2 separate regions of the Homo sapiens genome follow, and region 1 is linked to region 2. The links are contacts of gene promoters, found by promoter capture Hi-C in blood cells and fetal thymus (Javierre and others, 2016). All regions are on one chromosome and are shown on one strand. Each heading gives the region's core, a stretch centred on a gene start or on the middle of the fragment in contact. The rest is flanking DNA. Distances are from core to core; before and after follow the strand shown. Region 1 has its middle 7.8 kb from the start of SLC9A4. Region 2 holds the start of IL1R1-AS1 (IL1R1 antisense RNA 1).

The links. Contacts are between HindIII fragments. The CHiCAGO score rates a contact against its expected background, and 5 or more counts as called.
Region 1: a contact is called between a fragment that was not itself captured here and the fragment with the promoter of IL1R1-AS1 in region 2, in 2 of 17 cell types (activated CD4 T cells and total CD4 T cells). The highest score is 7.2, in activated CD4 T cells.

Annotation. Positions count from the first base shown.
Region 1 is chr2:102,461,659-102,469,148 of GRCh38, forward strand. No RefSeq gene overlaps it. Among named protein-coding and RNA genes, the nearest start is that of SLC9A4, 7.8 kb to the right of the region's middle. The HindIII fragment of the contact is 4,818 bases long and covers 302-5,119 here.
Region 2 is chr2:102,179,937-102,187,181 of GRCh38, forward strand. IL1R1-AS1 (IL1R1 antisense RNA 1) reads right to left here and starts at 2,172. Exons shown (of 3, transcript NR_174960.1): 1 at 1,958-2,172; 2 at 1-65. IL1RL2 (interleukin 1 receptor like 2) reads left to right here and starts at 7,087. Exons shown (of 12, transcript NM_003854.4): 1 at 7,087-7,150. RefSeq lists an enhancer at 6,743-7,245. The HindIII fragment of the contact is 1,818 bases long and covers 374-2,191 here.

The DNA of each region.
Region 1 (7,490 bases), core at 1,461-3,960, 280 kb after region 2:
GGACCCTCCTGTAATGCTTGTCCAACTCCCTGTACCAAAGAGGTGAATACTATGCTCACTGTATAGGATGAATGCTTCAAAAATTCAATCCATTACACACAGCAGGTACTGAATGGTGAATTCAGAGCTGTGAGGTAATACATTGATAACTGGTGATAAATTGATAACTGGTATAGGGTGAATTAATTAACAAATAGTTGTACAAGCAAACCATGAAATACTTCTCAGCAATACAAAGGAATTCACCACTGAGACATGCACCAGCTTGGATAAATCTCAATGCAGTATGCTGGGTAGAAAAAGCTTATCTCTAAAGGTTACATGATTCCATTTCTATGACATTTTCAAAAAGTCAAAACAGTGACAGAACAGATTATTGGTTTCCAGGAGTTAGGGATGGAGGAGGGCGGGTCTCAAAGAAAGAGCATGTAACCTGATTGTCTTGGTGATTATGTGAATTTACATCCGTATTTAAATGCACACAACTGTAAATCAAACAAGCTAATTTTATTGTATGTTAATTTAAAAATAAAAATGTAAACCCATTCTCCCTAACCCTACCAAGATGTCCACTGCTCCTGGTGCACCTGATGAAGGTGATACCTTCTCTGTCTCCACCTCGTCTTCTGCCCCATGCAGTAAAGCCCCTAATGGTCCATTCTTCCAATGTGACTCTAACCTGGTTATTCTGCACAGCATTCACCTGGTTCATGGGGAATTGGATGCCCACTTTCCCCACCATTGCTCCCAGGCTTCCCTCTCTTTCCTTGCTCTCCAACTGCATTTGTTCCAGCTGATCTGCCATTGTCAATGATATCCTGCCGAGGATCAGGCACCAGTCTGATTTTTGAAACCCAAAGAAAAGATTATAAACTCTTTCAAGACTTTTTTTACTTGTCTACATTCCAATTACATAGATTCTGTGGGGATGAGAACTCAGCTCTGTACAGCTTTAGCAGGGGTGAAATGTCAGTCTTCCCCGCTGGCAGAAAGCCTCGCATCTATGAGTTGTGACCTTGGAGCTCTCTAATTGGGGGGCTGTAGGGTCTTTTACATAGGTCTCTGGGGATGCGAGTGCTGGACCAGTTTGGCTACCCTTAGCAAGTCCTGCAGGGGTTTTGTCTAACATCTCTGTTTGAACTGAGAGTGCACTTGCCACTCTAAGTCCTTAAATTTGTTACCTTTGCCAAAATTCAAGGTCAACTGAAAAACGCCCCATTTAACCTCTGATTGTACCACCCCCAGGTAAGTTTCTGTGCCCTTTAAAAAGCCAACTATATACAGGAAAGTCTCTGACCAGAACTTGGCACAGTTAAATATCACTTACTGGCTTTTCTTACCTTTGTATTCTGGTTCATTTCACGTCTAGGAGTTTTTCATAAGCCCCACATCTGTAACTGGATAATTGAACAGGCTGAATTTACTAAGATATCTGCAGAAAATGGCGTTGCTCTTCTCCCACCATTGCCTCACTACATTTTTTAAGGTCGCATTTGCTTCAACTGATCAGATCTCATAAGAAGCTATTTACAAATCAACCACTCAGTTACGGATGGATGATCATGTACGCAATTGTACTTTAACTAGAGCTAACTGCAGCGATGTGACAGAGAAAATGTTACGTGTTCACCAAAATCATTTTGTTTTTCTGAACACACAGCCACTTTTCCCAGCCTTCTTTGTAGTTGGTTTGGGACACGTGACTAATATTTTCTAGAAGTAGAGTGGATGTGATAGGGTGATTTCTAGACTGAGGCAATGCAGATATAACTTTTGCACACTCTGTCTTGCCCATTGTGACCTTGGAGGCTACATGCTTGAGCTGGCATGCCCACATGATAAAGGTGTTCCTTATCCACATTGAAACTATAATGTGGGTACAAAGTAAACTACCTATGTTCAGCCACTGAAGTTTCTAGATGATTTATTATTGTTGCGGAGTTTAAAGTGTCCTAACTGACAAAAAAAGTTGAGTCTTTTTTGTTCTCTTTCTTAACGTCTCAGAGTGTTCTGAGGGTTTTCTCATCTGAAACTGTCATGGTTTTCAGAGTTAAGAAATTCACACTGAAACAGTTCTCTTTTGGTGGACAGCATCCTGATTTCCCTCTATGTTGTTCTGTCTCATTTCCCCGCATAATTCCTACTTCTTGCCTTTTGATTCTGCACTATGTGCCTGTGACAAGGCAGTTCAGGCAATCATTGCTCAACTGAACTGAGCTCTTTGTGTACCACCACACAAGTGAAGATCCTAATGAAGAATCCTTCGCACCCCACTCCTAGACTTGCACAACAGGTATTGACAACTTATTCCAGTAGGCGCTCTTACCAACAGTTTTTTTTCTTTCTTTCTTTCTTTTTTTTTTTTTTGAGACAGAGTCTCACTCCGTCGCCCAGGCTGAAGTGCAGTGGTGCGATCTCGGCTCGCTGCAACCCTCTGCCTCTCGGGTTCAAGTGATTCTCCTGCCTCAGCCTCTGGAGTAGCTGGGATTACAGATGCGTACCACCATGCCCAGTTAATTTTTGTATTTTTAGTAGAGACGGCGTTTCACCATGTTGGTCAGGCTGGTCTCGAACTCCTGACCTCATGATCCACCCGCCTCAGCTCCCAAAGGGCTGGGATTACAGGTGTGAGCCACTGCGGCAGGCCACCTTCAACGCTTTTCCAAGTCTTTCTGATTTTCTCTCTTAAAATTAACTAAATGTCTCTTCCCTTTTGCCAGGTAGGTACAATATAGACATTTCTCAAAGGGAACAGAATACACTGCAGTCCCATCATTTAGCATATTTCTCAGTAAAATGGGATTCACTGTGAGTGTGCAAGTGTGGGTACCTTATGGCAAGTGGGTTTAATTGGTATGATCAATTACAATCACATGTACCCATCCAACATCACTGGTCCTCATCCAACAACATACACAGACACTAAACTCAGTAGAATAGGGCTGGCTGCTGTGGGAGGAGCACATGCAGTATAGCTTGCAAAGATGTTCTTGGTCATTTGATCTCCTACAGATCCATCACTTTCTCCATGCTGTGAGATTCCTATCAAAGGTGCCAAAATAGCCTCATCCTGGGTACCCTACCAGTCTTGATCCTCAGGGCTTCTATCACTATTTCACATAAAATTGTGAACAGTCTGTGACTTTTGTATGAGGGGCTTACAAACCCTGGGTGCTCTTGGTTCTTGAACAAAACTGAGCACTGGTTAGGCCACACCCTTGAGTCTGGAGGAGGCAGAACCAATGTCTGGGCCCCTAAATTTTGCCCCTGCCCCTGCTGTCCTATGCCTCAGAAGCCCATCTTTGTTTCTCACACAGAAAACATCCTGATTCTGATTAGAAACCCTCTTACCTGAGTAGTTCCAGTAATGACTTTGGACCAAGAACCATGTGCACAAATTCATTTGCCTACAAAATGGCATAATCCCACCCATGCTGGTTCAATTATCAAAACATGACCTCACTGTAAAAGACTTTTTTTTTTTTTAAGACAAAGTCTCACTCTGTTGTCCAGGTTGGAGTGCAGCAGCTCAACCATGGCTCACTGTAGCCCCAACCTCCTGGGCTCAAGCAATTCCCCCAATCCCCTCTCAGAGGAGCTGGGACTAGCTGGGACTACAGGTATATACCACCATGCCCTGCTTTTTAAAATTATTATTATTAATTTTTGTAGAGATGAAATCTTCCTATGTTACTAGCACTGGTATCAAACTCCTGGGCTTGAGGGATCCTCTCACTTTGGCCTCCCAAAGTGCTTAGATTACAGGCATGAGCCACCACTCCCACCTGACCCAAGAGGCTTTCAGCTTCCTTTACATCTGAGCACTGGGCAAATACCCCATGGATAGGTCCTGCCTACTGGTTGACAAGAGCCTATTACCCACCCCCTGCTTCTAGCCTCATAAATTTCTGGAACCACACATGTGTTTCCCAGGCCTTCTTTGCCCACTGTGCGCTAATTGTTTCTTATCAATGTTAGAATTTGTTTGTTTTTGTTTTTATTTTTTTTGTTCAGGAGCATGCTTTCATCTATGTGTCATGAAGGTGATGGAGAAGTGAAGTATTCAAGCAAAGGGAAGGATGTCTTATCAGTTATGGAAGCTCAGACTGGCAGGGAAGTATCTGGGGACAGCGTGGTATTGCTAGCCCATGTTACCGAGGTGGAGATATTTATCTTCGCCTCAACTTAAAGCATTGGGGGAAACTAAATGTGGAGGTTTAGAATCTTGCTCTCTCCTTCTGAGGCACCCTTGGCAGATTGGTTAGGTATAAAAATGCTTCCTGGCCTCTGCTTCAGTGGCCACTCAGCTGGTAGCTACAGGATCTGTTCTGCAGCAGAGCATTCTGGGATAAGCAGTTCATTTCAATGATTTAATACAGATGGATCTTTGGAGAGTCTCTCTAGTGCTTTAACAAAAACCCTCCCTTTGCTAAAGGCTGATAATCATAAGTACTATATTGTTAGGGGACATAAACTCTGTCTTGTAACAAAGGACAGATTTCAGAAGTAAAAAGCTAGCTATGGAAGTGTCCTGTACCAGGGATACTGGCATACTTTTCTGTTTTAATAGAGTACTGAAGAAAACTCAGGTTCTGCCAATCGAGACAACAAAGAGAACAAATTCTTTTACAGGTCACAACTAGTTTCATCACAGGAAGCCAGAGCCAGGCAGTGGAAAGCTCTCCTAAAGTTTTCTTCTATGGACTGAATTGTGTCCCCCTAAAATGCACATTTGAAGCCCTACCCCCTAACCTCCAGTGTGTCTGATTTTGGTGATAGGGTCTTTAGGAGGTAAAGTTAATGAGGTAACAGGGGTAGTACCCTGGACCCATATGATTATTGTCCTTGCAGGAAGAAACACCAGAGATTCTTTCTTTCTCACACTAGCTTGCACAGAAAAAAGGCCACATGAGGACTTAGCAAGAAGGCAACCATCTACAAGTCAGGAAGAGAGGCCTCACCAGAAACCTAATCAGCTACCACCTTGATCTTGGACTTCCCACCTCCAGAATCATGAGAAAATAAGTTTTTGTTCATGAGAAAATAAGTTTTTGTTGTTTAAGCCACCCAGTCTGTGATAACTTGTTATGACAGCCTGAGAAAATTAATACAGTTCCCAAGCTTACCTGGGTATGTGATGCTGGAGATGATATGAAGCAGGCAGAAGCCTTGAAGGAGGAATAGATTTACCTGCACTGAATTATAGAAAATGGGAGGTGGCACTGGTCACTGGTATATGAGTTGGTTCTTTGAAGACTAATTGTGAATAAAGTTCAGCTGGCTTCCTCCACACTCATGCACGTACTCGAAGCCTGAGTAAAGGAGAAAACTGCAGTCTCCTCTGGTCCACGGTATTGCCCACATCTCATTGGCTTATGTTTGCAATGTCCATTTATCTAAACTGCCTGAATATCTATCAGCAATCCTTCTGCTAACAAAAGCAGCCTCTTCCCAATGTCAGAACACGTTATCCACCTACCTTAATGAGAATCAGTGTTCCTCGAAATCCAGTGTCATGGTCCCCCCTAAGGGAATAGGAATTTAGTTGAGGAAAGAAAGAAAAGAGGGAAAACAGACCTACTAGGCGTTCCTAATGTAGGTGTTGTTGGTGATGGGTTATGGGTTGAGTGGGGTGGAAGTGGGAGGGGATCAGCCCTTGGAACAAAGAGGAAAGATTAGGGAAGATACAATTGCTAGCTCAGCCATTTTAGACTGGGTTCAACTAGCCCTGTGACTTATTGTCTAAACAGTGGTGACTGGTGACAATGTGGGTAAATAGAGAAAAATGACACGTTTCATTTTTAACCACCTGTCTGTCTTATTTCCACCATCCAATAAATTTAGGATGTTTTGTGGACAAGTAACTTATTAGGAAGTATTATAGGATACTGAAGGATATTAGACTTCTACCTATGTGGAGTTTATAATCACTTTGAAATAAAATGAATCTAATACTAATCTGGTATCAATTCTGTATTAAGCATTTTTCTTTCTGTTATTTGTCATGTCACCTAATCCTCAAACATCTTTAGAATAGGCATCATCATCATCATCACCATCATCATCGTGGATAAAGTAACTGAGACTGAAAGAGGTTTAAGACTTGCCCAAGTTCACATAGCTTCAAATTTTTCCCCCTTGCAAAGTTTGTATTCCCTTAGGGAAGCTATCACAGTAGAACTGTAAGAATCTGACATTAACTCTGGTGTGAAGATCTGTCTTATTTCAAAGCTTACATTCATGCCCACCCCATCCACCCAGACTACACTGTGGTATTTACCCTCTCCTTCCATATAGGGGGGGTCTCCTGGACTTGATTTTGCCTTTACCCATCCCCTCTGTTTCACTCTGAGCAGTGGAAGTTTGACTTTGGGGAGCAGAGACAGAGCTCAGCTTTCTGTCCTGAAAGCAGGGTCATAGCTTTTGACTTCTCTCCAGCTTAAGATGTAGGCTTTCAATTTAGGGGTATGATATACCAGAACTTGATCCAGGCCATCCAGTTTAATTGCTAGCTGTGGTCTTGGAAGGCAAATCATCTTTCTGGACAGCATTGACCAATTCTCTATCACTACTCTTTTTCATTCTTCTTCCTAAAAAAGAATATAAATTTGAGCCCTGACAAAGTATCAAGAATTCAGGGGCAAGCAACAGATACTTTAGTCTCAGAGTGCTACACAAATACTTTCTGGTAAAGTCAACAATGAGCACACGTTATGGGAAGGAAGAAGAGGTGTGCTGATTATTTTGTTGAAAACTATTCCTGGAGAGAGGTGACTTTCTAATTCATCATGTGTAAAATATGGTGTCAGTTCTGCCTTTTTTTTTTTTTTTTCCTTTGGAGCTTCTCTAAAACAGAAGTTGCCTCTAGAAAACTGAGGGTAAAAAGAGAAGAATGTTCCCTAAGCTCCTCTTCTGGCTATGCACAGCTGAAACCCTGGGGGATGGATGGGAGATTCTCTTGCCATGTGTACCACCCTCAATTAGTCCCATGAGGGAAGACAGGATATAGCAATCTAAATTATAAGGCACCCACTGGGGAGAGGATGTCTGGCCATTCCTTTCCTGCCACTGGGCTCTATGTGTGAGCGGGTTTCTATGAACAGATGACAAGAACCACAGGGATTCTTGGGACTGGCACCAAAAAGGGGTCAGGAAGGCAGGTCAGAGAAGGTCAAGTTTCTACAACCAATATAGTTATCTGAATAATTAGATCAAAACTGTCAGGTATCCAATAGCTTGCTGCGGACCTAAAATTCCAGGATGATTCTTTTAACTCTCTGCTTTGCAAATGAAAACTGTTTATATTTTCCCTTCACCATCACAAGTATAAACAGGAAAGCGCACAGCACCCTGCGATACTCTGGTGCACCTGTGAATGGATCTTTTCTGAGAAATTAAGTTAACTGATAATTATTATTTGGATCATATTTCCATTTATTTAGATCTTCTTTAAACAATTTTTTTTAGAATACAAGTGTGACACTTTTTTG
Region 2 (7,245 bases), core at 922-3,421:
TCAACAAGGTGAGGAGACCTTCTGCAGAGAGTTCTTCCTGTTGTGGGGAAGCAGGTGGGGAGGAGCTGGAGGAGGGGAGGGGAGTGGAGGTCAGAGGCTATTGGCTTAACAGTGAGCCCTAACTCCCATCTTCTAGCTAAACTCTACTCCCTCTGCTCATTTGCTTCTAAAATGGATTAAAATGTGAGCCTTGTCAATAACTGTTTATTAACTTCTTATCAATTTACTATTAACTTATCACTTTACCTGTCCAAAAAATGATAAAGGGAATATTTGTATAGACTTTTACATTTTACAAAGCGCTTTTATTTTTTCCTTTGACCCAGAAGGTGGGCAAAATTGGTGAACTTGCTGTCCAAAATGCATGCTCTAAAGCTTGTTAACTCTGATGGTCAGAGATGACACCCAGTCAGTGCCTCCTTCTTACCTCACAGCAATGCTAAGGGGCAGGTGACTCTCTCAGTACCTGGGGAGAAGGGGCAGGTGGCAGGTTGGCTTAGAGTCTGAGTCCAGTATGAGCACTGCCTCCACCAGCTACCTGGAGTGAAACCTTAGGCAAAGTATTTGAGCCTCAATTTACTCATTATATAGGTATAATATCTAACTCATAGAGTTAAGATTAAAAAGATTAAATATATTATGACAAGCCTAGTGCTTAGCATAAAGCAGGTTCTCAGAAAATGGTTGCTTTGTTAGTAGCAATTCTATGAATTGCTTATCTGAAGCCCTATTAGAATCTGCAAATGGAAGGGGTAGAGAGGACTTATAAATTAGAAATGACAATTGACACTAAGGACAAAGTACACAATGTCAAACTGAAGTTGTATAACCACAGAGGCCAGGAGCCCTGTCCAGCCCACAGCCCCTCCACTGGCCCCCAACCTGAAAGAATGTTTCTCACTGGAAGAGTTCAGGGAGCTTTGCACCACATTTTGGTTATGATACCAGTTAATGTGAAAACCATTAGGAAAATCAGTGCTAACCACCATTTAAAACTCACACGTTTTCCTCTCTTTATCAGATAAATTTTCCCCAGTAAATGCAAAATAGGTTTTTAGGGAGTCTCTGGAATTATTTTACAACAGGAATGCCGTCTGGTGGAAAAAGACCTGGAACTAAATTCCTGCACTGTCACAGCTTTGAAACCACAACAAAGCACCTGGTTGTATGGAACCCCCATTTTCTCATGTGTAAAACAGGACTTCCTATGTTACAAGATGTTTATATGTAGGAAGTCTCTGTCCAGTATACGGGATAGAATCTCAAAATATATTTTCTTAGTTTTATCACTTGATGAGTACAGATAAAACAAAAAACTTACTCATCCAAAATGTATATTTTTCAAATTCTAGGGTTTTAGGTGTGTGCGGGGGTTGGAGAGTGATATAATGCTGGTGTTAACTTTTTAAAATGATCACAGCTGCTACTTAATCCCATTTTAGCAAGTCAGGATCTGGTTTAGCATTTTTAATATAGTACGTTCCCCAAGTAGTAATTGAAGGACTTCTAAGTATAAATACCATGCAATTATAAAATCAGAGATTTCCTCCAGCTTATTTGTCAAAAGAAAATCTTTTCGCCTTTGACGTGAGGCTCTGGGAGTGTGGTGAGGTTGGCTTAGCGTGCAGGGCATAGGGAGCGTAGCAGGTGGGGAAGAATGTGGATTGGGCTGGAAGGGAAAAATTGTTCCTCTGTTACTAAAATAAAATACATGAATGAATCACCATCATGGCAATAATTCATAAAATGGAGTACACATGAAAAAATGTATGTGGGAAGACAGAGGAAAGGGATAATTTTTTGATGTGATAACATTCATTTTACAACCAAAGATTGTGTGTGTGTGTGTGGGGGGGGGCGGGGTGTTTAAATTTTAAGGAGAGGAAGAGTTACAGGAATAGGTGGTACTATTTAAAATGAGTATTAATCATTCAAAACAAAAACATGCTCATCTTACCACATGCCGCTCAGGTTTCTTCTGAAGAAGGCTTGGCTGCTCAAAGTACGTAAATCATACCTATACCTTAAATCTGAGCCCCAAACATTAGCACAGCAGTCTCTCAAAATTTGCAGCTGTTAGACCAGTTGAGCCTGTACCACCTGACTCTAGACTCATAGGAGGCTGTTGACATCTCTAAAGCTGTGTTCAACCAGTTGAGAGATTAATTTACCTACAGGGTGAAGTTGATGAAGCTTGTTTTTCTTAGAACCTTTGACCTGGAAGTGATCCCAAGTGCCATTTGGCTTCTGCTTCCGGGTCTGGGAAGGCTACAATGATACCATTCTACAGTGTTCATTGGTTTTCCTGTCAATCTACACATCCTGAGGATGAGATTCCTTAGGCTTCTTTAGTGAAACGGTATTGCATGTTTCACAGCCTGTGTGGGGACCCACTCCTGCTTTGGTTCATGTAGTTAATCCTTCCCTGGCTAACACTACATTTTCCCTCCACAGCCATGTTACGTCACTTACCCTGCTTAGCCAGGGACAGACTGCAGCTTCTCATTTGCTTTCAAGGCTGTAGACAGCAGCCATCTGTTTCAACAGTTTTTGTCGTCAGATGCTATTCCGTAGTCCTGCCTTCCACACTGTACTTGATTGCTTCTGAATTCTTGTCTTTCCTAAAACTGGACCCATGTCCTCTCTCAAATTCAAAAACACAGGGGAAATATTTGTGTTCTCAAGCGTACTTTTAGATTTTTAAAAAGTGCTAACCAAGTGGTTAACATTATGCTAGACACTGAGAAAATTACAAGGTAAGAAAAAACAGAAATCTAGCCAGAGAAGAAGAGTGTGAAGAGAAAGTTGTTCAGGAAACAATCTCATATGACAGAGGGTCTTAAACCCATGACTGAACTATTTGGACTTTACCACTAGGAGTAGGTATATGGGAGATATTGGAGGCAACAGGTTGGAAGAACTTTCGACATAAAGAAACACATTGATAGGGCACTATTGTACAGCAGATTGGGAGGAGGTAAAAGGTTACATAGGGAGGTTGTTAGGAAGGTGGTAGAGTAATCCCCTTGGGAGTCAATTATATTTAAGACATTTTATAAAATAAATTAGGAGAAACTTCTTTTTATTACGAAAGCAATAATGGTTTGAGAGAATGTGGAAATTTCTAAAACATATAAGGAAGAAAAATGTCACCCATAACTTCACAACCTAAAGATAATTATTGATATTTTATAACATTTCTATGGATATAACTGAGACCATATAATACATGGAGTTTAACACTCTTTTTAAAACTTAGCATAAATATTTGCCCACATTACTATTATACGAAATACAATCTATAAGTAGTCACTAAGTCTATCAAATGGATGGTCCATAATCTGATAGCTTTGCTGCCTTCAGTGGACATCCAGATTATTTCTAGTTTTAGCTATCAGTAGTCAAAGTGCAATAGTTATCCTTTCTCAAATATTTTTACTTCCCTAATCATTTGCTTAGCATATATTCAGAGGGCAAGATTCCTTTTCAGGTTCTTGATGTTCCATAGAGACATTTGCTCCTCTTACACAAGCAGTGTGTGGCACTGAGAATACTCATTATTAAATCATTGCTAATTTGATAGACAAAAAAAGGTTATCCTTTGCCAGTTAACTATTAACATGGTTGAATGTTTCACTTAACAATTACAATTGGAGGCGGGTGGATCACTTGAAGCCAGGAGTTTGAGACCAGCCTGGTCAACATGGTGAAATGAAACCCCATCTCTACCAAAAACACACAAAAAGCAAAAAACAAAAATTACCTGGGCGTGGTGGTGCACGCCTGTAATCCCAGCTACTAAGGAGGCTGAGGCAGCTGAGGCTATTGGCTTCGTCTGTGTTATTTTATTTTGGAATTTACAAACTGTTTCCTCCTTTGTGATTTTGCACTAGCTGTTTCCTACTTTGGGGAAAGCCCTTCTCGCAGACCTCCACATGCTGGACTCCTTGCCTTGACAAGGGCCTCTGCTGCACCATAGTCCCTTCTGAAGGGAGGACTTCCCCAACACCCTCTCCATCACTTCATCATAATTGCTTTCAGGGTTCTCACCAGCCTGAAATCATCCTTCAAAATTTTCTTATTTACTTGACACTAGAATGACTGTAAACTCTAAGAGGGTCTGTCTTCTGTACAGCTGTATTTCTGGCACTCAGAATATCACCTGGAACACAGTGGGAACTGTATAAATATTTGATGAGGGACTGAGCGAACTAATGAATGGAGCTCGAGGGAGTGAGTGATTAAGCCCAGGACTGCAGGAAACCAAGTGCTTTAAGGACCTCCTTCCAGTCTCCCTGGCTGCTTCTTCCATTTCTAGAAGTCCATTTCATCCCAACAATAGCAGTCTGCTACAGAAATGCTGCTATATATTCCCAAGCCTCATAGAGGGGAAATATGAGAACTTAAGGGCCTTAAAGGTATAAAGATCTTGGTGGAGCCCCAAACACCCACCCCAGCCTAATACTGGGTTTTGGAAAGTTTAATTGTTGCGTGTGAATATATTTCTGTTTCATTCTCATTGGGAAACATTATCTGTGGGATATGGCCAATGGGAAATAATCAGATATTTAGTTAGAACAAATAAAAGGTAGTATGCATCATGTAAAATATAAATTTGTATATGAAATCTTTAATCCAAATTGTTGCCCTCCTACCCTTCTGAATAGCCGTCATATCCTAGTCTGAGGGTCAAATAGACTGAAGGTAAAATTCAACCAAGCAGAATTCTGTAATGCTTTCATCACACACAGATTTGTTGCTTTTTGCCTGCTCTCAGAATGAAGTGATGAATCTCTAGAGGAAGTTGATTTACTTCATAAAAAAAAAAACCAACTGAAAATTATTTCCTATGGCCACTGACTAATGCTAGAAAACATTAAGAATATTCCCATTGAAAAAATATCTGCAAGTGGGAGAGAATTAGACAAGGAGGGGTTGGTAGGGGGATGGTGATAAGCATCTATTACATATTATACACCCTGTTATGGAGGCTTTACAACTGCCACCTCTGAAAACTGGGCATAACCTCTCAATCTAAATGTATATAAAATAAAATCACAGGATAGCTTTTACATCAGAGCAGCAAAACTGGCAAAATTTAAAAGTCTGACATTACCAAATATTGGTAAGAACATGAAGCAATGAAATTCTTTTCCTCTAAAGGACATAGCTATGGAAAAAAATTAGGGCTTTTCTAATACAATTGAGGATGTACCTACCCAATGATTCTGCAATTCCGTTCACTAAATGGCCTCTGAAATACTCGCACAAAAGGACATTACCAGAATCTTTGCAGCAGCACCGTTTATAAGAGCAAAATATAAATTTGGAAAAACTTAAATGTTCGAAGGAGATGAATACATTTAAGTTTTTTTTTTTCAAGGTAATTGAGAACCTGCAGTAAATATTATGGTTTCCTGTTATTTTTAATTGCTAAGTTTACAATACCCGGAATCAGTTCTGCCTTCAAAGCCAAGTGTTCATTTTCCACGTATCAGGAAACACATTTGGCATAGAGACCATCCCAGGAAGTTAAATTTCAGATTCTCAGAATTAGTAGCAAAGTGCAATGTCAGAAGTGTCCAGTGAGAGGCACTGCAGGGGACTGGGATGGCCTGTCTTAACTTCATACATTTTGGGGCAACAATACCCATTAAACTTGGCATATATACTAGTCCTCAGGCTAAGAAATAAGATAGGACACAAATGCATCTATTCATAAAGTGAAAATGAAAAAAGATAGCATAAAGATTTAGAAATACCTTTCAACACTGCTCATAGAAATAATTCTGAATGCAAATCATATGACTTTTATAAAAATAGTAACACTTTTGTTTTGTTTTGGATGAGGACATAAACGCTGAAGAATATACATATACAGAGGAACCTCGTTTACTGCTGATAGTAGGGGAAATAAATAATAATCTCTATTTATAGCTTAAGAAAGAGGTCCTCAAAGAGTGGGAGCCCTATGGGTCCCTGAGAGACCCTTCAAAAAGATCTGTGAAATCAAAACTATGTTCATCGTAATATTAAGACCTTATATTCCTTTTTTATTCTCATTCTCTCATTAGTGTATGGTGGACCTTTTCAGAAGCTATATGACATATTATATCATGACACTGATTGCAGAAGCAAGTATGAGAATCCAGTCATCTTCTAGTAAGCCAGACATCAAAGAGATCTGCATCTATGTAGAACAATGCCGCTTTTCTCAATAAGCCTGTTTTAGAAAGTAGAGTTATTTTTCATAAATTGTATGATATTTGCGTTAACATGTAATGGGTTTATTGTCACTTAAATAAGAAAGTAAACGTTTAAAAATTCTCCCTTTAACTTCTAATGTAGTAATATTGACAGGCATAACCTACATAGACAAAAGCACTTTGGAATCCTCAATACTTTTTAAGAGTGTAGAAATCTACAAACCACTGACCTTCAGCCTATCACAGGAAGCTTTGCTATTAGCACAATTATTGCATCTCTGCTCCTATGGTTGCTTTTGTCTCACTGTCTCTGATCTTTCAAAGACCGTTGGGAAGAGCTTGACCAGTAATCTATTGAATGGAGATTACATTTTGAACCTTTTCCTACAACTCAGTGCCCTGTGGGATGACTCTGGGGTGTCTCCTGATGGCTAGGGCAACAGGTCCCTGTTGACATCACCTTATCGGGAAGTTTTAGACAGGAACAGTCTTCAGGCTCTGAAGTACTTGAACACCATGGGATTCCTGCCTTACAGAAGTTAATGAGCACGACTCAGGCAGATTCATAATTCTCCTTAGAAGCCATTTGGGATGGCTTCCACTTTGGGGTCATTCCACATAGGCCAATGCAGAGCATGCAGTAACTGCTCAAATAGGATTTGGAAAGGAATGAATAATTCATTTAGACGTTCAACTTGGAATAGACTTAAGCAGACACTCCTGGTGATGAAGGACTTAGATGCCAGAAAATCAGGCTCAAAGACTTTCAAGCCACTTCCTAGTGTGATGTCACATTCCTTCCTACGCTCCACTGGGGAAGGCAGGTCTGCCCCGCCCACGGTGGCGGGGAAATACCTAGGCATGGAAGTGGCATGACAGGGCTCGTGTCCCTGTCATATTTTCCACTCTCCACGAGGTCCTGCGCGCTTCAATCCTGCAGGCAGGTAGACACCGGGCCGGGAGTCTGGCTGAGCCAGGCATGGGTGGGGCCCTGACAGTAGGAGAGGTGTGCAGGAAAAGACGTGGCAACAATGTGTGC